3 separate regions of the Homo sapiens genome follow, and all the other regions are linked to region 3. Evidence: promoter capture Hi-C in 16 types of primary human blood cells and fetal thymus (Javierre and others, 2016). All regions are on one chromosome and are shown on one strand. Each heading gives the region's core, a stretch centred on a gene start or on the middle of the fragment in contact. The rest is flanking DNA. Distances are from core to core; before and after follow the strand shown. Region 1 overlaps SOCS4 (suppressor of cytokine signaling 4). Region 2 overlaps TBPL2 (TATA-box binding protein like 2). Region 3 holds the start of DLGAP5 (DLG associated protein 5).

What was found. Contacts are between HindIII fragments. The CHiCAGO score rates a contact against its expected background, and 5 or more counts as called.
Region 1: a contact is called between a fragment that was not itself captured here and the fragment with the promoter of DLGAP5 in region 3, in 1 of 17 cell types (monocytes). The highest score is 5.1, in monocytes.
Region 2: a fragment that was not itself captured here is called in contact with the fragment with the promoter of DLGAP5 in region 3 in 1 of 17 cell types (activated CD4 T cells); the score reaches 5.8 in activated CD4 T cells.

What each region holds. Positions count from the first base shown.
Region 1 is chr14:55,045,375-55,048,074 of GRCh38, forward strand. It overlaps SOCS4 (suppressor of cytokine signaling 4), which reads left to right. Exons shown (of 3, transcript NM_199421.2): 3 at 1-2,700. Among named protein-coding and RNA genes, the nearest start is that of MAPK1IP1L, 4.9 kb to the right of the region's middle. The HindIII fragment of the contact is 1,074 bases long and covers 874-1,947 here.
Region 2 is chr14:55,433,896-55,436,595 of GRCh38, forward strand. TBPL2 (TATA-box binding protein like 2) reads right to left here. Exons shown (of 7, transcript NM_199047.3): 2 at 2,666-2,700; 3 at 1,952-2,039. It also overlaps a transcript of FBXO34 not described here. Among named protein-coding and RNA genes, the nearest start is that of TBPL2, 5.4 kb to the right of the region's middle. The HindIII fragment of the contact is 1,007 bases long and covers 825-1,831 here.
Region 3 is chr14:55,190,311-55,193,010 of GRCh38, forward strand. DLGAP5 (DLG associated protein 5) reads right to left here and starts at 1,275. Exons shown (of 19, transcript NM_014750.5): 1 at 1,153-1,275. It overlaps LOC105370508 (a long non-coding RNA gene), which reads left to right and starts at 1,363. Exons shown (of 2, transcript XR_943888.3): 1 at 1,363-1,492. RefSeq lists enhancers at 465-1,018, 1,019-1,571. The HindIII fragment of the contact is 13,519 bases long and covers 1-2,700 here.

The DNA.
Region 1 (2,700 bases), core at 161-2,660, 140 kb before region 3:
ATTATTTTAAGTTGAATTTGAATAAAGATTCCAGAAATAAACATGGAGCTCAGTATTCAGGAAGCTTAATACTGTTTTTGATCTACAAGATCCAAATAATTATCCCTATCTTCAGAATTAACTTAGTCTGTAATGTGGCTTCAAAAAAAGAAAGCCTTTTGACAGCTACATGACTTACACCATACAGAACAGTACTGGACAAAAGGGGTGATATTTTAAATTTACTATCCCAGAAACAGGGCAACGTTTTTAGAAACATCTTTAGCCCAAAGTAACTAGTAAAAATAAATGGAGTGGTATCCTATCTTCTTTTTTTAAGGAATCAATGAATAATAAATGTAGATAGACAATTTTCTTCTGGTGAGCTGTCTAACCCTTTGTACACATTGACATTTTTAATATCGTAACTGATTTCTTGATGCTAGTTTAGCTATATTAGGAAACTGCTTCTACCTAGATTGAAAGAAATTTGACTCATAAACTTCCAAGTTAGAACAAATATTTCTTCATTATTGTTGCTTTTATGTGAGTAGCATTTCCCTATCTTGCAGTTCTGTTAACATGAAAATGGCATTTTTCCATAATAGCTTTAAAATAATTTTTTAGTAATTATTACAAAATTAAGGAAAATCTCTATTACCGTTATCTTTTAGCATTTTTTTTTTCCTCAGTGATCTCAAGATTGTCTTAGTCTCAATGAGATGTAGCTACAAAAATGGCACCTCTTAGCAGTGATGAGGCTCAGGATATCGGATATCATAACACCAATGTCAGGATAAATATCTCTTCTAAAGACGATATTTACCTTTTACAAGGTTAGAAAAGTCTCATACTACCTCATCTTTATTGTGGCGCTTTTGTAGATCACTGAGAAGCTTATCTTATTAACCAATATACCACTTCCTAAATATCCATCTTTGGTGAAAGAAAATAGTGTGGTAAGAGTACCCATGATTATAGTTTTTTATCAGAATTTGATAAGATTTTCTGTTTCTGTGAAACAATTATTTTAAATATTTTTCTTTTAAAAATAACTTTTTATCAGTACAGAAAAACCTAAGGGATGACTAGCTTACAAATATTCTGTTAAGGGGTAGTTTTATAAAGAAAAATGATATATAGTTATGTTGTCTTTTATAGTGTTAAAATTAGTATTTATATGAAAGTCAAGATCTAAGTACCTTTTCATATAATTCAAACTGATTGCTTGTGATATGTTTTCTCTGGCTTTTTTATTTTTTCAACTTCAAGGTATTAACAGCTGTTAACACTTAAAAAGTACTGCCACATATGTAGCCTTGAAGTAGTTGATCTAATAAATGAGAGCAGGGAGGAGATTCATTGACTCTGAAATGATTTTTATTTTTCCTTTGGTATTTGCTACAGTGAAAAGAAGTTTGGAAAGTAGATACATAAAGACTTGAGAAGGGAATTGTTTAAGGGAAAAGAAAAGAGTAATAATTTTTTTTAAAACATTAAGGAATTGGAATTCAGAAAGGTTACCCCCTTCCTCTGTGTCTTTGTAAGGATACATTTGGAAGAACATACAGTATTCAGAAACTAACCTATATAAAATGTAAACAATATATTGATTGCACTATATAAATGAGTAAATTTTGAGAGGAACAATGTGGGAATGTATAAATTTGTCTAAAATTTTATAACTGTTGAACAAAGGGAAGATTTGAACAGTGTAAATTCCAGAGTTGAGAAAGCATTTAGCATGGTGGAAATGTGGAGAGCTTATTGGTGAGAGAGGATGGAGCTAAGAGAAATAAGATCAAATATTAAAATTAGGAATTTAGGCATTACCTCAGGGAAAAGCCTTGACAGTGAAAAGAAACTACTTAATCGCTAATAGCTAGTCTGGACCAGACACTTAACTGCGCTTTGGGAATCATCCTGGGCTAATCAGGAAATAAACTTGACTTTTCTATTTTTCTCTGAAGCTTTACAGGACATACTCCCACTCCCATTTTTTTCTAAGCCTACAGCATCTTGATTCATAGTATAATTCCTGAAGTATGCTGAATGGACTTTTTAAGGTTCCTTTAGCATTTTTGTATAGAGTTATATGTGATCTTTCTATAACCATGCCATTCACTTAAATAATTCATGAAGGGAATGGTTTAATTTAAAGGAAGACCTAATAGGAAGAAGATTAAAGGAAGCTTTTAGTCAGCCTGTGGCTAGATTTATTGATTTGGTGATCAAACCTGTGCTATTTCCTGAATTTCAGCTAATGGCCAACTGTGGTCAAAGAATGGCTTTCAGTTAAAGTTTTGACTTCTTATTATAAATAATATAAAGAATGTCTCAGTAATTAGAAATCCCTTAATAAGTAGAACAAATGTGGCAAGTAGGACTCCTATCGGTATACAAATTCCATTTCTTTTTATAAGAAAAACACATAAACCATTATCATTTATTCATGAGCCAAAGCCATTAAGAAGATAAATCCAGTTATCAGCTTCCTGTCTCTGAAGTTTGGATCATTTTATAGATCCACGCAATAGAGAGCTTCCTTCCTATGAAACAAAAACCTTGAGATCTCTTTTTTTTTGAGACAGAGTCTCGCTGTTGTCAGCCCAGGCTGGAGTGCAATGGCGCAATCTCGGTTCACTGCAACCTCTGCCTTCCAGGTTCCAGCAATTCTCCTACCTCAGCTCCCAAGTAGCTGAGATGACAGGCGTGTGCCAC
Region 2 (2,700 bases), core at 78-2,577, 240 kb after region 3:
TATTAACAGGTAAAAATAATATCAGTAACTCTTAAATTTGAATGCCTGTTATGTTTCAGTTCCTATTTATTCTCATGATAGGATGAACTTGTGTTTATTATCCTCATTTAGTGCTCAGGGAAAACAAGTAGCAATATAACCTCCAATATTACACAGGAAGTGGTAAAGTTAAGATTCAAAACCCACACTAATCAGATTCTCTGCTTTTTACTTTGACACACTTCCTTTTTCTTTTGAAGAATCTTTTGGGAAAAAAATAAGTATGTTAAAGGCTCACCAAGACTTCAGAATGTACTGAAAAATGACCAAAATGCAGAAGAGTCTGTATGATAGGCATGCTAAAGATGAATGACAGAAAGTTGATGTCAAGGTTCTTGCCTCTTATAGTTCTCAAAGTGTCATTCAAGACCAGCAGCATCAGCAAGCCCTGCAGGTGAGGCTGACACTCGTGAGGGTAGGGAACCTCTGGCCTGCCACATGGACGTGTCATCAAATGGCCTGCTCCTACACAGATAGTCTCTTCACCCCAACTCCTCTCCCCGGTTAAGCTAGGAAGGAAACTGGGGTGGGTGCTAGCTTAAGGGCCAAGCCAGAATTTCTCTGGGTGTCAAGCACAAGTTCAGAGAGATCCTATACACTCATCCCCAGCCCTGCCCACCCCTACCCCTCGTCCAAAATGAGAGGTGTGCTGAGGATGGTGGACAATAAAAGTTGCCTAAAATGCTGATTGTTCAATAATGTGATCACAGCTGCAGCTGTGAGGATCTTAGCTCATCTTTGTGTCTGTCCTCACCATTGTCAGCTGTATGAAATATCAAAAGGAAAGCTTTATTGTATTCGGGTAACATCGAGGTAACATTTAAATTCAGATGTCAGCAACAATACTAGGGCAACAGCAAAAACAAATAATAGTTGATGCCTGCAAGGTCTCTGGGTTCCTACGAATGTGACCTTTTTTCATCTAATTCCATAAATCCTCCACCACCTAAGCCAGTGAACTTTTTCCCAGTAGGAAGCAGGTCTTACTCATCTTTGTACTCCTAAGTACAGAGCCTGGCAAATCGTTAAAAGTTGATAGGATTGACAAACCCAATTACCCTAGGTAAACAAGCCATTGAAAACAGGATGCCTGGCCTTGGCAGGATACAAGAAAGAATAGATTTTATTAAACTTTGAGGAGGACGAAAAAAAAAATCCCTGAATCTTACATTAGTAAATAGGAGCTTGAACTTTATACTTTAAGCAGTTTAGCCTTCTCAGATAAGAGGAATTGTAATGGAAAGATACATAAGTGTCAGGTAGCTGAGACAACATTTGGCAAAAATTATTTCCAGAAATTTGATGGCATTTTAAGATAGTTAGCATCCCAATAGTCAGGTGAAATTTTTTTTTTTTTTTTGGAGACGGAGTCTCGCTGTTACCCAGGCTGGAATGTAATGGCATGATCTTGGCTCACTGCAACCTCTGCCTCCTGGGTTCAAGTGATTCTCCTGCCTCAACCTCCTGAGTAGCTGGGATTACAGGCACCCGCCACAACATCCAGCTAATTTTTGTATTTTTAGTAGAGACGGGATTTCACCATGTTGGTCAGGCTGGTCTCAAACTCCTGACCTCGTGATCCACCTGCCTCAGCCTCCCAAAGTGCTGGGATTACAGGAGTGAGCCACCGTGCCCAGCCTAAGTGAAAAATTATAATCATACTAAAAAATATTTTTGAATGACAAGGGAGAGAGCTTATCTTTAAGGAACTGCTCAATTACTGCTTTATTCAGCATAAAGAATGAGATTATTTTTTATAACTCAAAACAGATATTAACCCTGAGTTGCCAAAAGCTTTTTCAGTAACAATTTTTTAAGAAAAAACAGAGGAATTAGTCAATATCATGATCATATTAAGAAAAGTAAATCTAAAGAGAAGCTAATTATTGGAAGGAATACTGAGAAATGTTACCTTTGGGTTATATTCTGCATTTTTTGCATGCAAAGCTATTTTCTTCAGATCCAACTTACAGGCCAGGTTTACAGTGGAAACTATATTCCTGAAGAAATAAGTCAGTTTAGAAACTTATATCAGATATAAAGAGTAAAAAAAAAAAAAGACAACTTATTTTCTCATTTCTTAGGTTATACCTTAGCAATTTCCTAGGGGGAGAATTATTCCAAATGTGAAATACATGACATGATTCCTAGTTAAGTGTAAAATCCCAAAGTGAAGTGCTAAAGAGCCTTTCCTAAAATTTCATGACTAGCTGCTAAAATTAAGTTTTAGATCTTTTTTCAAAACAATGCCTCAAAATAGAAATTACAATTCTGAATCAATTTGCAAATCAAACTCAATTTTACATCTTTATATCCTTGGTGTTTATCCAACCCTACCCACAATTTTCAGCAACTACAGTGCTGTAGTATAAACAATACAATCCTTCAAGAATGCATCTATTAATCTTTAAGTCCCCTCCGCCCACCTTAGAGGTCAAGAATTAGTGCTTTGCCTTACAGATAATCAAACTGTCTAAAGCCACAATCCATTTAGAACTGATAAAACAAAGAATTATGAAATCTGAAATTCTCTTCCCTACTATTATCCTGAAATTAGTTGTCATCGCATTCAGGAATATAAAATGTGTACCCAATGTGCTCAATTAAAACAAAAATAAAAACTTACTGTAGTTGAGGTACAATTCCACAACATTCTGAAAT
Region 3 (2,700 bases), core at 25-2,524:
CACACGCACAAAATCATATAGTTTAATTGGCACATGCCTTTTTCTTGGAAAGATCTTTGAGAATGTATTCAAGCAAAACAAAAGAGGACAATAAAGACGACGTCAGTAGATCCAACTAGGGAGAACAAAGAAAATTAGAAAGTTTGAGGGGGTCACCTGTGTAGCTGGTATAGAGAACTACCAAGCCAAACTGGAGAAAGGATACTGATTCTCAGAAGTCTTGGCAGTTAAAAAACAAAAACAAAAAAAGGTAAGGGGGAGGCTCTGTGATAGACACACTATGGTATATTCTTCAACAAGAATTAACTAAATCCACTAGAAAACTCCAGATAATAGAAAAATTGGCACAAGTAATGCAATACATTGTTACATGATTCTAAGCAATCAACAAAATATAAAAAACGAGAATCTGTCTGACCTGCATGCTAATAACATTCTCCTCTAAGACCCAAGGAAAGTGACAATGGACTGTGCTTTTCATAAAGAACTGTCTTCTACTATTTATCTCCTGCAATATTAATTCGCTAAAGATTGAAGAAAAATTAAGACTTATGTATTAAATACAGGATAGCACTATCCACAGCAAGAGAAAGAGCGAGCGAGGACAACATTAAAGGTACAATTATCAGAATAACCCTGAAAGGTAGTTAACTATTATCGCTCTCATACAGATGAGGTCAATTAACTGCTCACATTAGCATATCTAAAAGGTGGTGAAGCTGGGATCCCAAGCAAGGCAGCCCTGGCTCCACACACACCTAAATTTTGTTTGGCTGAGTGGCGTTTCCTCCAGCTTGAAAGTCCAGAATGCGTTAATCTTGCTTGACTAGAGGTTCTCAACCGGGCGTTTTTAGTTGCCATGGGACCTGGGAAGAGCTACGGGAATTTAATGTCGGAGCTAGTGAAGAACAGTTTCACCCCAAAGGTCAATTACGCCCCGGTGGTGAAACGCTGACTATTACAGAGGTCAGGGCAAACATATGGACTCTTCTAAAGGCTCGCATTATCAGCTTCGGGAAGGGCAGGTAACACGGTCCTAAAGGAGCCTGCCTCTGACTTGCTCCCGCTCGCAGCCCCCGGTCCTCAGACCCTTCTAGACCTTCAACGGAAGCGGGCCAGTGTTCTCCGTCCAGCTCTCCAGCACCCACCTACCTGAGCCACCTTCTAGCGTGAAACCTCAACCAAACAAAAAGTAAAGAACACTCGGTCTGGACGACCACCGCCGACTCCGAAGCAGGAACCCTCACAACCCGAGCCTCCACGAAATTCAAACTTGCCGCACCGAGCCGCTGATTGGAGGGGCTTTAACCAACACTTCCGGGGAAGATCCCACCCCTTCCACTCAACGAGGCTTGCGATTGGTTTGCTCCGTGCGATATTTGAATTGATTGAAAGGTGAAGGGCCAGTTCAAAAGATGGGTGAGAGAGGGAAAATAGGCGGGACCGCGACGCGGGATGAGAAGGAGTGGAGCAGTCGGGGCGCTCACGTCAGGTGAAGGGCGGGAGTGGGCGGTGGAGCCCGAGGGGTGAGGCTGGGTCCCTGGCAAAGCTGGGCTGCGGGAAATCTCCCCCAGAGCTCGCAAGGCTTTTTTTTTTTTTCTTTTTTCTTTTTTTTGAGACAAGGTCTCTGTCCCTTAGGCTGGAGTATAGTGGGCACCGACCACTGCTCACTGCAGCCTTGAGCTGCTGTGTTCAAACCATCCTCCCACCTCAGCCTCCCGAGTAGCTGGGACTATAGGCGCGCACCACTACGCCTGGCTAACTTTAAAAAAATTCCGTAGAGACAGGGCCTCACTACGTTGACCAAGCTGGATTCAGGGCTTTTTAATGTCCTTGTTTAGTCACAGAATCTAGCAGACCTTCTTGGAATGTTTTCTTTACTAGACGTTTTAAAGAAAAGGCTTACCCCAATTATCAAATCCTTACATAGTTTAGCGTTACTTTTCAACGTCGCCAGCCCCCCTCCCCTTTTTTTTCTTTTTTAGTTCATTTTTTGTTGAGGCGAAGTTTTCGTATACAGTGAAAATAATAGTTTTTCCCCCCCAGTGGACAATTTGATGAGTTTGGTAAATGTAAACAGCTGTGTAACTACCACCCAATCAGGACGTAGAGCATTTCCATCACTCAGAAGAGTGGCCTGTTTCTTTCCTGTCCATCTCCCACCACATCAGCAACCACTCCTCTTATTTCTAGCACTATAAAAATGAAGGTGATAGGTACTCTTTTGGGTCTGCGTGAACCAGAAGTTAGTAGTGTTTGTTATTGAGAGGCATTCCATTGAATACTTTATGCATTCACCAGTTGATGGATTTGTATTGCTTTCAATTTTTGGTGATGATGAGCAAAGTTGCTATAACCATTCTCGTACAAGTCCTTGTGGGCATATTTTATTTATCTTGAGGAAATACAGGAGTGGAATTTCTGGGTCATTCTGGGTATGTTTAACTTAAAATTTTTTTTTTTTTTTAGAAGCAGGGTCTCTCCGTCCCCCAGGCTAGAGAGCAGTGGCACAATCATAGCTCATTGCAGCCTTGGCCTCTTGAATAGCTGGGACTATAGGCGGGTGCCGTCACCCATGTCTAACTTTGTAAGGAATTGCCAAGCAGTTTTCCAAAGTGGTTGTACCATTTTACAATTCCCACCAGCCACATATAAGAGTTCCACTTGTTTCACATGCTTTCCAGCACGTGGGGTTGTCAG